Regions from separate parts of the Homo sapiens genome. Here all the other regions are linked to region 2. Evidence: promoter capture Hi-C in 16 types of primary human blood cells and fetal thymus (Javierre and others, 2016). All regions are on one chromosome and are shown on one strand. Each heading gives the region's core, a stretch centred on a gene start or on the middle of the fragment in contact. The rest is flanking DNA. Distances are from core to core; before and after follow the strand shown.

What was found. The method cuts DNA at HindIII sites, captures the fragments that hold promoters and counts their contacts. A CHiCAGO score of 5 or more calls a contact.
Region 1: a contact is called between a fragment that was not itself captured here and the fragment with the promoter of OR10P1 in region 2, in 1 of 17 cell types (neutrophils). The highest score is 5.4, in neutrophils.
Region 3: a contact is called between a fragment that was not itself captured here and the fragment with the promoter of OR10P1 in region 2, in 1 of 17 cell types (M0 macrophages). The highest score is 5.7, in M0 macrophages.

Annotation. Positions count from the first base shown.
Region 1 is chr12:55,069,435-55,073,640 of GRCh38, forward strand. No RefSeq gene overlaps it. Among named protein-coding and RNA genes, the nearest start is that of NEUROD4, 52 kb to the left of the region's middle. The HindIII fragment of the contact is 7,255 bases long and covers 1-4,206 here.
Region 2 is chr12:55,635,588-55,639,483 of GRCh38, forward strand. It overlaps OR10P1 (olfactory receptor family 10 subfamily P member 1), which reads left to right and starts at 1,305. Exons shown (of 1, transcript NM_206899.1): 1 at 1,305-2,246. The coding sequence starts at 1,305. The coding sequence ends at 2,246. RefSeq lists an enhancer at 1,142-1,643. The HindIII fragment of the contact is 13,599 bases long and covers 1-3,896 here.
Region 3 is chr12:54,721,511-54,725,713 of GRCh38, forward strand. No RefSeq gene overlaps it. Among named protein-coding and RNA genes, the nearest start is that of DCD, 75 kb to the left of the region's middle. The HindIII fragment of the contact is 1,374 bases long and covers 1,593-2,966 here.

The DNA of each region.
Region 1 (4,206 bases), core at 1,027-3,526, 570 kb before region 2:
GTTTATACTACTGAGAAGTTTCATATTATTCAGGATCTTCATCCTAACAGAATTCTGAGGGAGATCTGAGGTGATTCTACCCACTTCCTAGCTGGGAAATCTGAGGTACTGAATGAGAAAGCGACTTGTCACAGAACTGGTCAGCATTGAAATAAAACTAGAGCCTGGCTTCTTCTCATGACCCTCCTGGCACCGTCCATTAGATTACACTGTCTTCAACCATCGTAATATAGACTCACCCATGAAATGATGGTATAGTGCCTGTTTCTTGCACATGCCTGAGCCAAAAGTGAGAATTCAGTTATCCTTTGACGTCGAAGAAGTAGCGGTAAGTTCCCCCTGACCACTGCATCCAGGATGTTTGTGGATTTTTTTTCAAAAACAAATTTTTCTGAGTCCTAGCTGAAGGACTGGAGAGGAAAAATACTTACTGAGCTTAATTACGTGCTGGTGACTGAGATAACTGTGGGCTATTTTACGTTTATCATTCTGACTTTAATCCCAACAACAATTCTAGAGAGAAAATATAATGAAAGAAACCAACTTATATCAAAATGAGAGAGATACAGAAGAATTTTCTGACTTAGATTGTCAAATATTTGAAGAAATATTAGACAAATAAAGCTCATGCAATTTCCTTCTCAACCATTTAAATCTTTAAGGGGCAAATGAAACATGTTTATTGATTATTAGTGCCAAATACTGTATATATCTCTTTAAAACTTACAGCAACTATCTAGTAGTATTATAATTATTCTCATTTTATAGATGAGGCAACTGAGTCTCAGAGAGATTTAAAGAAAAAAATGTTACTCTAATTCACACGGTGGTTGAGTGGTGTGGGCACGAATAGCAGGCTGAACAGTCTGATTCTAATGTCCACTCTTTTTACGTTACACTACATTGATCTACTCTGTTACATTCACATGACATAATACAAACCCAGGCCTGTGCTGTCCAATACAGTAGCCATTAGTCCTATGTGACTATTTAAATTAATTAAAATGAAATAAAGTTAAAAATTCAGTCCCTCAGTCACATAAGTCAATATTTCATATGTTCAATGGTCATGTGTGGCTAGGGGCTACTCTATACTGGAAAGAGCAGATATAAGACATTTTCATTAATGCAGAAAGTTTTTGACAGAACAAGATCCCCTCTAGATGAGAAGTGGTACAGTGGAGTGGGTGAGGGCATAGGCTTTAGAGTCAACAGATTTGGGCTTGAAACCTACTTTTCCCACTGTTATTTGTATGATGTTGTCCTTGATTAATTGTACTTTTCTTATTTAGTCCTCAATTTACTGGTTTGAAGCCTGAGGACAATAACAGATTTTCCCTCAAAGAGTTATTAGAGTCAGACAGAGAGCAGAATTCCAGAAAATTGGTAAGGAGTTGGCAGAAGTTAGCTATTATCACAAGCTATCTACAGTTTTGAAAAAAATGACTATGTTTTGTTAGAAATAGGCACAAAAGGGTATATACATATTTGATTTACTGTATTTGTAAAATAAGCCAGGTTGATATGAGAATTTTCCTAAAGCAGATTTAGTAAAAATTTTGTCCAGGAATCATATTTGTGCAAAAATTTGCTACCCTACTCAGAGTAGGGATACTATATTTCATCCTTGAATTCCTGTGGCCTAGCACAGTGTGTGTCTTGATTAGTTTTTTGTTGCTGTAACAGAATACATTATAGTGTATTCTGGGGAAACTTATTAAGAAGAGAAATTTATTTCTTACAGTTCTGGAGACTGGGATGTCCAAGGTCAAGACACTGGCAGGCTTGGTGTCTGCTTCCAAGATGGTGCCTTGAATGCTGCATCCTCCAGAGGGGAGGAACACTGTTCCTCACATGGCAGAAGAGCAGAAGGGGAACCCACTTCCAAAAGCTCCTTTATTGCAACATTAATTCATTCATTAGGACTGAGCCCTCATGACCTAAACACCTCCCATTTGGTGCCACCTCCCAACACTGTTACATTGATGATTAAGTTTCCAACACATGAGTTTGGAGTAGACAAAAACATTCAAACCATAGCAGAGCCTTACATTTAGTAGTCCTATATATGTTGGCTGAAGTGAAGTGAGAGATGGCAAGAGGTACAAAAAGGGATGGTCAGATGCATTTTGTTTTGTCTGGTCCATCATGTTGTACATCACACCACAAACCCCAGTTTCACATAAATGAGCTAGGGTGACCAACCATCCTGGTTGCCCACCTCAGAACTTTCCCTGTTTTAGAACTGAGAAACCTCTCAGGCCCAGGAAAACCAGAATATTTAGTTACCTGACTGGGTTCAGCTTTAATGAGAATCTGACTTTAAGGTCAAGTAAAAGGTTTATCTACTTCTATAGCCCAATATTACTTAAACGTGAGAGATATCCATTCCTTTTATCATCAAAATAAACAAATGAAGTTCAGCCAAAATACGAATAAGGCTCTTGATATCAGAATATCTCCTATTTTGTTGTGGGAAAGGGGGTAGGAAATGGGAAGATACTGAAAGGAGAGTGTTAGGTCAGGGAGAGCTGGAACTAGAAAAAGGTCTGGAGTGATGCAGGATTTTTCTCAGCCCCTTTGTCAGACTAATGACAGGGGTGCCCTGTTTACTTGGCCCACCACACTCAACCCTTTGTGAGAGAGAGCATGTGAGTAAGTGAGTGGGATCCAGCCAGCTGCTTTGGGCACCAGCAGGAGCAAGCTCAGTGTGGAGCCTGCAGTGGTGCCCAGGTGGGGGTGCCTGCCACCCCAAAACCCCAGAGGGCATGTTTGCAGTGCTCTCATAGCTCTGCCATCTGCAGACAGCAGTGTCTTAGCAGCTCGGTTGGCCCGTTGCCTCATTGTGTGGGGTGGCTGCCCTCTGCTGGCAAGGGCAAAGAGCCAATGTGGCAGCCTTTTTTGGGTACCTGCACTCAGTGGGTTCTGAGCTCTTGGATGCTGGACAAGAAGAATGAGGTTAGCCTTGAAGGATGGTGAAGGCGGAGAATTTTATTAAGTGATGGAAATTGTTCTCAGTGGACAGGGGAGCTGGACAGGGGATGGGACAAGCAGGTAGTCTTTCCCCCAAAGTCCGGCTGGCTCTTTCACGAAGTCCAGCCAGCTATTCCCTGAAGTCAAGCCACCTCAGTGAAGTCAAGCTGCCTCTCTTCTCTACTGACTGAGTCTGGGGTCTTTATAAGCACAGGATGGGAGTGGGGGCAGGCCATAGGTAGTTTTGGAAAAGGCCATGTTTGACTGGTAAAAAGACATTACTCAGAAAGAGCCAATTGGGAGAGAGTGGGCAAAGAGGAATGGAAGTTCTCACTTTGGGCTGCAGGTCTCAGGCCACTTTGGCATGAAGGTGGGTTTTCACCGGGGACCCGCCCCGTCTGCCTAGAATTTCTCTGCCTCCTGCCTCTATCAGGAGGACCTAAGCAAAAATTTTGCTCACTACTTAGTTTACATATTTTGTTATTCCACCGTATCATTTCTCTTAGAAATAACAGTCCCTAGAGGATCTGGGATAGAGAAAGGCCACAGTGAATGTTTATAATACTGTGAAGGAGCTGCCCTGGAAACTAAAAGATCAGGTTCTAATCCTGGTTCTGTCATGAACTATTTTTGACCTTTGATAAGTCGCCTACATTTTCAGAAATTCAGTTTCCTCTTTGGACTCTGAAGGAAAATGTGGGCTCAATTGATCAAAAGATCCTAGTTCTTTGTAGATCGAATACTTAGGATTTAATAGGAACATCCTCTCAGAAGCCCATCATGACTTTTCACCACTGACTAGGCCAAGTATTGATGGTGCTATCATGGGGATGTGCTGCCACCTTGCGGTAGTTTGAGTTGTCCGCATGCACTAGTTTACTAGGAAAATCTCTGATTTATTTTCCTACAATATGTTGTTATTTTCACCCAAAGGAACACATTCTTTTAAAATTTGGAATCCTTAGGATATCTTCATTTACTTAGATTTTTTTGTAGCAATATTTTGTAGTTTTAAATGTAGAAATATTAAACATCCTTGATAAAATTTATACCTTTATTTTGATATTATAAATGGTACTTTTAATATTAAAATAAATTTAATTTTACAATTTCTGTTGTTAGTATATAGTAATAAATTGATTTTTATATATTAATTTTGTATCCCAAGATTTTTTTAGATTTATCTTTCGGTTTTAGCAGTTTTTTGAGGGTGGTAAGGGGGCTAGATCCTTA
Region 2 (3,896 bases), core at 55-2,554:
CTCCTTATCTGTAAAATGGAGAAAATGAAGGTTTCTATGTCGTAGTGTAATTAGGAAGATCCAATGATTTAATGAATGTTTAGCCCTTAGCATGGTGCCTGGCAGGAACCAAGCACTTGGGAAACATTAGCAGCTGCTAAAATAGGTAACTGCCTCCCCACCTCCCCACCACGTCCTGCAGGATCTCACAGTGGAGTAATAAGTGCTAGGACAAAAGGACAAGCAACATCTCATGAAAGCAGAGATAAAAGTGCCTTCCTCAAATACTCAAGGGCTCTCTGGTGCAAGAGGAGTTAAATATTGTATGAAATACTAAGCATTTAGCCAAGACCAATACAGTAAAGTCTTTTCCTACAGGCAGAAGAGGCCATAGCTAGAAAGGGCTACCTCAATAGGTGGTGAGTTCCCCATCACTGCAGATGTTCAAACAGACTCTGCACAGCACCCTTCTAAAATGTTGAAGATAAGATCCAAGTACTGTCATATGGAAATATATGTTCCTAAATGTCACTTTTAATCTTGAAATGCCATGGATAATTATTTCTGAGCCTGAGGATCACAGAAAGCTGCCACCGAGATAGCGAAACTTGAGTGAAGGCTTGAAGTGTGATGGGATTTTAATATGAAGAATAGAAATATCCTCTGAAAGGAGACACTATGGCAATGCATGGAGGCCTGACAGAACAGGGTGTGCTGGGACAGAACAGCTAGTGTAGCTGATCACAGGGCCCCAGATAAGAGGAGAACAGAGAAATCAGGGAAGGTGTCAGAATCCCAATGATACCATTGGGCAGTATTATCACAAATAGTCATATCACTGTGTGACACTCTTAACCCACAGCTCACTATGGTGAACATTAGACACCAGTTCGGGACAGTCCCTGGTGCTACCCAGTTTCTTTTGTGCCTCAGCATCCATCTAGAGAGTACAAAGGGGCCTAGGTCATAGCAGCTGCTTCACCCCTCACTCTGGAGAGAGATCCAAAGATCAGAGCTAGAGTCTTTACATATGAGAGTCAGGCCCCAGACACAGGACGAGAGCCCAGGAAACAGTGAGAAAGGCGTCGAATTTGGAGTCAAGAGACCTGGATTCAAGTTCCAGGCCTGCCACTTTCTAGATATTACCTCAGACACATTATTTAATCTCTCTGAGACCCATGGCTCATTCAGAGAAAGGTATTAATTCTCTCACTTGATTTTGAGAGGAACTGTGTGGCAAGTGCTTTACCAAATTACAGAAATGTTGCTTGTTATTTCTAAATAACTTCTCTTCTTGGCTGTGCCTCAGCTTCTGGCCTGGAGTGATGGCTGGGGAAAACCATACTACACTGCCTGAATTCCTCCTTCTGGGATTCTCTGACCTCAAGGCCCTGCAGGGCCCCCTGTTCTGGGTGGTGCTTCTGGTCTACCTGGTCACCTTGCTGGGTAACTCCCTGATCATCCTCCTCACACAGGTCAGCCCTGCCCTGCACTCCCCCATGTACTTCTTCCTGCGCCAACTCTCAGTGGTGGAGCTCTTCTACACCACTGACATCGTGCCCAGGACCCTGGCCAATCTGGGCTCCCCGCATCCCCAGGCCATCTCTTTCCAGGGCTGTGCAGCCCAGATGTACGTCTTCATTGTCCTGGGCATCTCGGAGTGCTGCCTGCTCACGGCCATGGCCTATGACCGATATGTTGCCATCTGCCAGCCCCTACGCTATTCCACCCTCTTGAGCCCACGGGCCTGCATGGCCATGGTGGGTACCTCCTGGCTCACAGGCATCATCACGGCCACCACCCATGCCTCCCTCATCTTCTCTCTACCTTTTCGCAGCCACCCGATCATCCCGCACTTTCTCTGTGACATCCTGCCAGTACTGAGGCTGGCAAGTGCTGGGAAGCACAGGAGCGAGATCTCCGTGATGACAGCCACCATAGTCTTCATTATGATCCCCTTCTCTCTGATTGTCACCTCTTACATCCGCATCCTGGGTGCCATCCTAGCAATGGCCTCCACCCAGAGCCGCCGCAAGGTCTTCTCCACCTGCTCCTCCCATCTGCTCGTGGTCTCTCTCTTCTTTGGAACAGCCAGCATCACCTACATCCGGCCGCAGGCAGGCTCCTCTGTTACCACAGACCGCGTCCTCAGTCTCTTCTACACAGTCATCACACCCATGCTCAACCCCATCATCTACACCCTTCGGAACAAGGACGTGAGGAGGGCCCTGCGACACTTGGTGAAGAGGCAGCGCCCCTCACCCTGAAGGGACTCGGATGTCTGCTCACTCACTCAGTGCTCATCCTCCCACTCTTCAGGGACTGGATTTAAACCCCACTCTCACAGAAATCATGCAGCACCTCAAAGGAAAAGGCTTCCTGGAAGAAAGTGCTGAAATTAAAACAGAGATAAATCTACATATTGCCTCTTATCCCAGAGTCCACACTCACTATCAGAGCATGGGTTATTAGGTCAAGGTAGAATGAAAGTGATTGCTGCCCTAGGGAAAGGACATTTATTTAGCATCTTCTAGATTGTTCTGGATCCCTGAGCACAGTGATTGCCATGGCTGCACCGGTAGCCAGAGGTCCATGTCAGTCATGAAAGCAGGTGTCTGTGAACTTGACATCCAACTAAGTGGCCCACCCAAAGCCTGTGGAGGAGTTTACCTAGCCCCTCTGTTACATTTTCTTCCACCACCTGTGTCTGAGCTTTCCTCTACTCAGTGGAACATCTGTTCTCCCCTTGGCCTTCAGGAAGAGGGGCATCTGAGGGTTCCAGTCATAAGGCTCTCTCCTTCCCAAGATACCAGCACAAAAGGGAAGATGGTCAGATGGTATCAAAAAGGACCAAGTTAAACATCAGGAAAAGTTATCTCCCAGGACAGCCTATACATGTCTCCCAGAAACACACTGGGGTGTCCTACTGTGGGTGCTTTTGGGAAAGAGCTGGTCAGGGATTCCAGAAGACCCACCAGCTTGAGAGGCAGGATCCAGAGCTGGAGCTAACCAGGGAGCCAGAAGCAAGACAAGGTGGAAGGAAAACACTCCCATCCCTCTGTGCTGAGGTGCCACCGGCTGCCCACTTCCCTCAGCCCAGGGACAGATGTTTCTCCTGCTTTATTCCCTGGAGCCCCCCATAGCTAAAGGGCAGCAGAAGGCCGAGGCAAAAAGACAGGCTGTTCCACGTCCCCTCTATTCCCTCACCTCTCACACATCATTACCACCTTTGTGTCCTCTAGCCAAGAAATGCCAGAAACTCTGGCTTTCAGTGAGGAGAGACCTCAACATTTCATCAATAACATGAGCTGTTCAGGAAATGATGGGAACCCAGTCTTCCCTCTTACCACCCCTGTGATCTTCAAGGAGTCCTTATCCCTCACAGAGGCTCTGCTCTTGTGCGAAGGAGTATTCAGCCATGGGAATCAGTGTGTTCTTCTGTAGCCCAGCCTCTGCACCCACTTCTTTCTTTTCTTTTTTCTTTTTTTTTTTTTTTTTTTGATGAAGTTTTGCTCTTGTCGCCCAGGCTGCAGTGCAAAGACGCAGTCTCGGCTCACTGCAACCTCCACCACCTCCCAGGTTTAAGCAATTCTCCTGCCTCAGCTTCCCAAGTAGCTGAGATTACAGGCACGCCCGGCTAATTCTGTATTTTCAGTAGAGATGGGGTTTCACTATGTTGGCCAGGCTGGTCTAGAACTCCTGACCTCAGATGATCCAGTCAAAATAAGTCTCATGAAGTTGTTCTCATTCCTAGAAATAGAGAGTAGAATGGTGGTTACCAGAGCCTGGAGAAGGAAGTGGGGAAGGGGACATAGGGAGGGATTGGTCAGTGGATACAAAGGTACGTTTAGAAGGAATAAGTTCTAGTGTTCTATGGCACCATAGGGTGACCTCAGGTAACAATATTGTATTGTAGA
Region 3 (4,203 bases), core at 1,030-3,529, 910 kb before region 2:
CTCCTTCCCCTCCCTCTCCTTCTCCCACTCCTCCTTTCCTCCTCCTCTTCTTCCTCTTCTTCTTCTCCTCCTCCTCCTCCTCCTTCTCCTTCATCTTATAATCCTTTCTGAAACTGACAGAGCCCTGTTCTGTGCTCTGAGATACAATGGTGAGAAGGCATCTCCAGAGCTCTAACACCTCTTGCTCTATCCAGCTGTCTTCATTGGGATGACAGCTCTACCATCCAACCCAATCTGGTGTGAGAGGTGAGGACAGTCAGACCTGCCTGATTCTGGAGTCCTGCCTCAGGATTTAGTGTAGTCCATTCATCTGATAGGGGTGCTCTGACAGCTTGGTAAGGCTAGTTTCTGCTGTTAGTTGACAGACTGCCCTGTGGAAGGGTGAGCAGGCATGCCATTTGTTGCTCATAAAACAGCCACAACCAGTAAGTGGAGTTCTTGAGGTTCACATAAATTTATCTAGGTCTTTACCATGTTTTTGGCCCTACATTTGTAAGGCATTTCATAATACACATATCCAATATTCTGCTCGTCATTCACTCTTCCTCTGCCTTTTACCATTTCCATCTCCCTCCTCAGAGTCAGTCCTTGCTCTTTTAAAAAATAATAGCTGTGATTCCATTTTGTTTGAACATTATTACATGACAGAGAGCTTCCAAAATAATTCTTGTGACAGACAGAAAATGTGGTGACAGTGGCTCATTATTTTTCTGTTTCCAGACAGTAATTTTGTTAATTACACTATGCTTTACTACTTTCTGAATAAACAACTGAAGAGCATGAACCAAACATGATGTTACAATTGTGTGAGTTTGCTTAATACCTTTACAGTTTATAAATATTTCTATAGCCAACTTTGCTATAGCTGTGTGAAACCCTGAAATCGCTCTGAAATCAAATGAAGGAGCACCCCAGTATAATGCATATTTTGAATTAAAAACCTTTAGGAATCAATGGGCCCTAGAAGAGACTTTTCTCCTATCTCCATAAAGATCAGATGGATCCATCAAGAACAATTGCTTTTCCTTTCCTTCATTGTTATCTCATTATCTATTAATATTTCAGGAAAGGAAAGAATGTAACCAGACCTGGCCCAACCATTTTGCAAAATAATTCCTGTCTCTCAGTTCGTTCAACTTCCAAAGAGAACCATTTGAAAGTCCATCTCTGTTCCCCCTTTCATTCATTCTCCCAAGTACCCATTCTTTTTCCTTTGGTAATCATTTACTGTCTCTCCACAGTTACTATATTCCCTATCTTCCCCCTCCCCTCTGAAAGAAGATTATATAAGTGTTTGGGCCCCACTGGGAAATTGGGTAATCTCTGTGATTCTCCCCATGCACACGGTTAAATAAATTTGTACGCCTTTTCTCTTATTAGTCAGCCTTATTGTGAGGCAATAATGGTTCGCTAATTTTTTCATTGAAAAGAATTTGCTGATTTTTTTTTTTTCAGTGAACCTTTCTAGGGCAAGGGGGAAGCTTCTCCATGGCCTCTACAGTTTTGGCATAGTCAATAATGGTTCACTGATTTTTTCACTGAAAAGGGTTTGCTGATTTTTTTTTCTGTGAACATTTCTAGGGCAAGGGGGAAGCTTCCCCATGGCCCCTACGGTTTTGGCATAGTTGGCAGAATCATCAAAGCCATTGTGCACTTCTGGAGACCATAGTGAAGGGAATCCAGGACCCAACAAAGTTGGCAAAGAAATGGTAAGAATTCCTTACTGGTCAGCCTCCCAGTTTCTTTCTTTCCATGAACTCTCTGGTCGAGTGAATGGTAAAAAAAAAAAAAAAAAAATCACTCTCTCTCTTTTCCTTTCCAAATTTAAGATTAGTGAGAGAAAACGTTTTATATGGGACTAGTTGGGTTTTAGCAACTCTGGTGTATTTAATTTGGGGTGTGAATATTTATATTGTTTTATTACTGGAAAGGGGTCCCAATCCAGACCCCAAAAGAGGGTTCTTGGATCTTGTGCAAGAAAGAATCTGGGGCAAGTCCATAGCGTAAACGAAAGCAAGTTTACTAAGAAAGTAAAGGAATAAGAGAATGGCTACTCTATATGCAGAGCAGCCCATTTTTATGGTTATTTCTTGATTATATGCTAAAGAAGGTATGGATTATTCATGAGTTTTCCGGGAGAGGGGTGGGCAATTCCTAGAACTGAGGGTTCCTCCCTTTTTTTTTTTTTTTTTTTTTTAGAACATTTAGGGTAACTTCCTGACATTGCCATGACATTTGTAAACTGTCACAGTGCTGTTGGGAGTGTGCCTTAGCATGCTAATGCATTATAATTAGTGTGTAATGAGCAATGAGGACCAGCAGAGGTCACTGTCATTGCCATCTTGGTTTTGGGAGGTTTTGGCTGGCTTCTTTACTGCAACCTGTTGTATCAGCAAGGTCTTTATGACCTGTATCATGTGCCGACCTCCCATCTCATCCTGTGACTAAGAATGCCTTAACCTCCTGGCAATGCAGCCCAGTATGTCTCAGCCTTATTTTACCCCGTCCCTATTCAAGATGGAGGCACTGTGGTTCAAATGCCTTTGACAGTTTGCACTCTTTTTCTCTCAGAAATAGCCTTTTGTTGTTGTTGTTCCATTTTCCTTTGTCTTTCTGTGTTATTCTTTTATAAAGAGGGGTACCACAGGGTAGAACATGAGCCTAGATCCCCTATAAGCCCACTGTTCAGGCTGGCCCTGCAGACTGGTTAGTTTTTTGCTGAGCTGACTAGATGAGCATCTGTAAAGATAAACTGCTTTTAGTCCCTGAAACAAAAACTGGATTTTTTTTTTTTTGGTTTATAACCTTGGGAGCTTGTCTTTGTGACTAAGTGTGGGTACTCTCTTAGTCTCTGCCATCAGGAGGGTATGAATTTTTGGGTTCATGTTAGGTGACCAATCTGAAAAGACTGGGAGTCTGAGACATGTACGATTTTAAGCAGCACATTATTTATACCAAATGTGCCAAGCTTTTAGGGGAGATTTGCCATAAAAGGTCCCATTTTTATGGGACTTTTGTTGTCTTTTGTTACTTTCAGCCTATTTCTGAGAGTGAATTTTTGGGCATTATGGGGACTGCCTCTTCTGTGCCCTCTCCAGAAACACATCTTGCTTATACAGTGACAACCTATTCTCAACCTGGGAAATTACCACCTTGGCTTACTATGAAGAGGCTTATTGGATTAAGTCATTATTGGAATAAATAAACCATTGAAAATTCTAATTATAAGTGGCCAGCAGAGGATCTTTTGAATGAGAAAGGCTTAAATTTAAGGAAAATTTTAAAGAGCTCTCATTCTAAGCATTTGCCTTATTTGTATTTATGAGAAGATCAAATTGAAAGAAAGACATGCACTAGTGTTGTGGCTTGCTTTAAGAACTCTCCTGACAAGATTAAAAAACAGAAATCTAATCTAGAACAAAAGTTAAAATCTGCCCCCAATTTAAATTTCCCTACAACTTATACTCTTCTTTATCCTCAACTACATGTCCCAGACCCCCCGAGAAGATTCTTTGATCATCTGGGCCCCTGGTCAAAATCCCCCTCCTCAAAATCCAGTCTTAACCCCACAGCAAACTTCTGTAATAACCCCTAAAACAATTACACCCCTAATGTCTCCAGAAAATCCTTTAGCTAACCAACTGCCTAATCTGACTTCTGTGTCTCTGCAGGATTTGCAGAAAACACTTGGACCTAATTTAAAGTCCGGATGCATACAGGTCAATTGTATAAGAGCTGACAAGCAAGAGAAACCCGTTAGATAAACCAGGCAGTGCTTGACTTCCTGTGCCATATGATGCTTCTTCCTTTCCAGGCTATATAAGTAACTCCAACAGCTCCAGGCTTTCCTAGGCAGTGCCCCCTGAGAATATATCCACGGCCTCCATGACAAAGAATTTATGTCCCCTAGATGGCAGCAAATCTTCTGAATTACGAAACCCATTTGCTCCTACTTTCAGAAGATCCTACGGAATCAGAGAGGCTAGTAGCCATTTACAGTCTCACTCACAGGGACCTTGACCGGCTACTAAGGGGTGTACTTCCCACCCATCCCACCCATGATTATCCTGTAGTCCATAGACAGGCCAGAAGGCCTGCAGGGGAAAACCCTAAACACAGGGGGAACAGGTGGCCAGATCCTCTCCCTGGCCTCCCTGTGGATGACCAGGAAATGGCTCAGCTAGAGGCTAATATTCAGGGTCT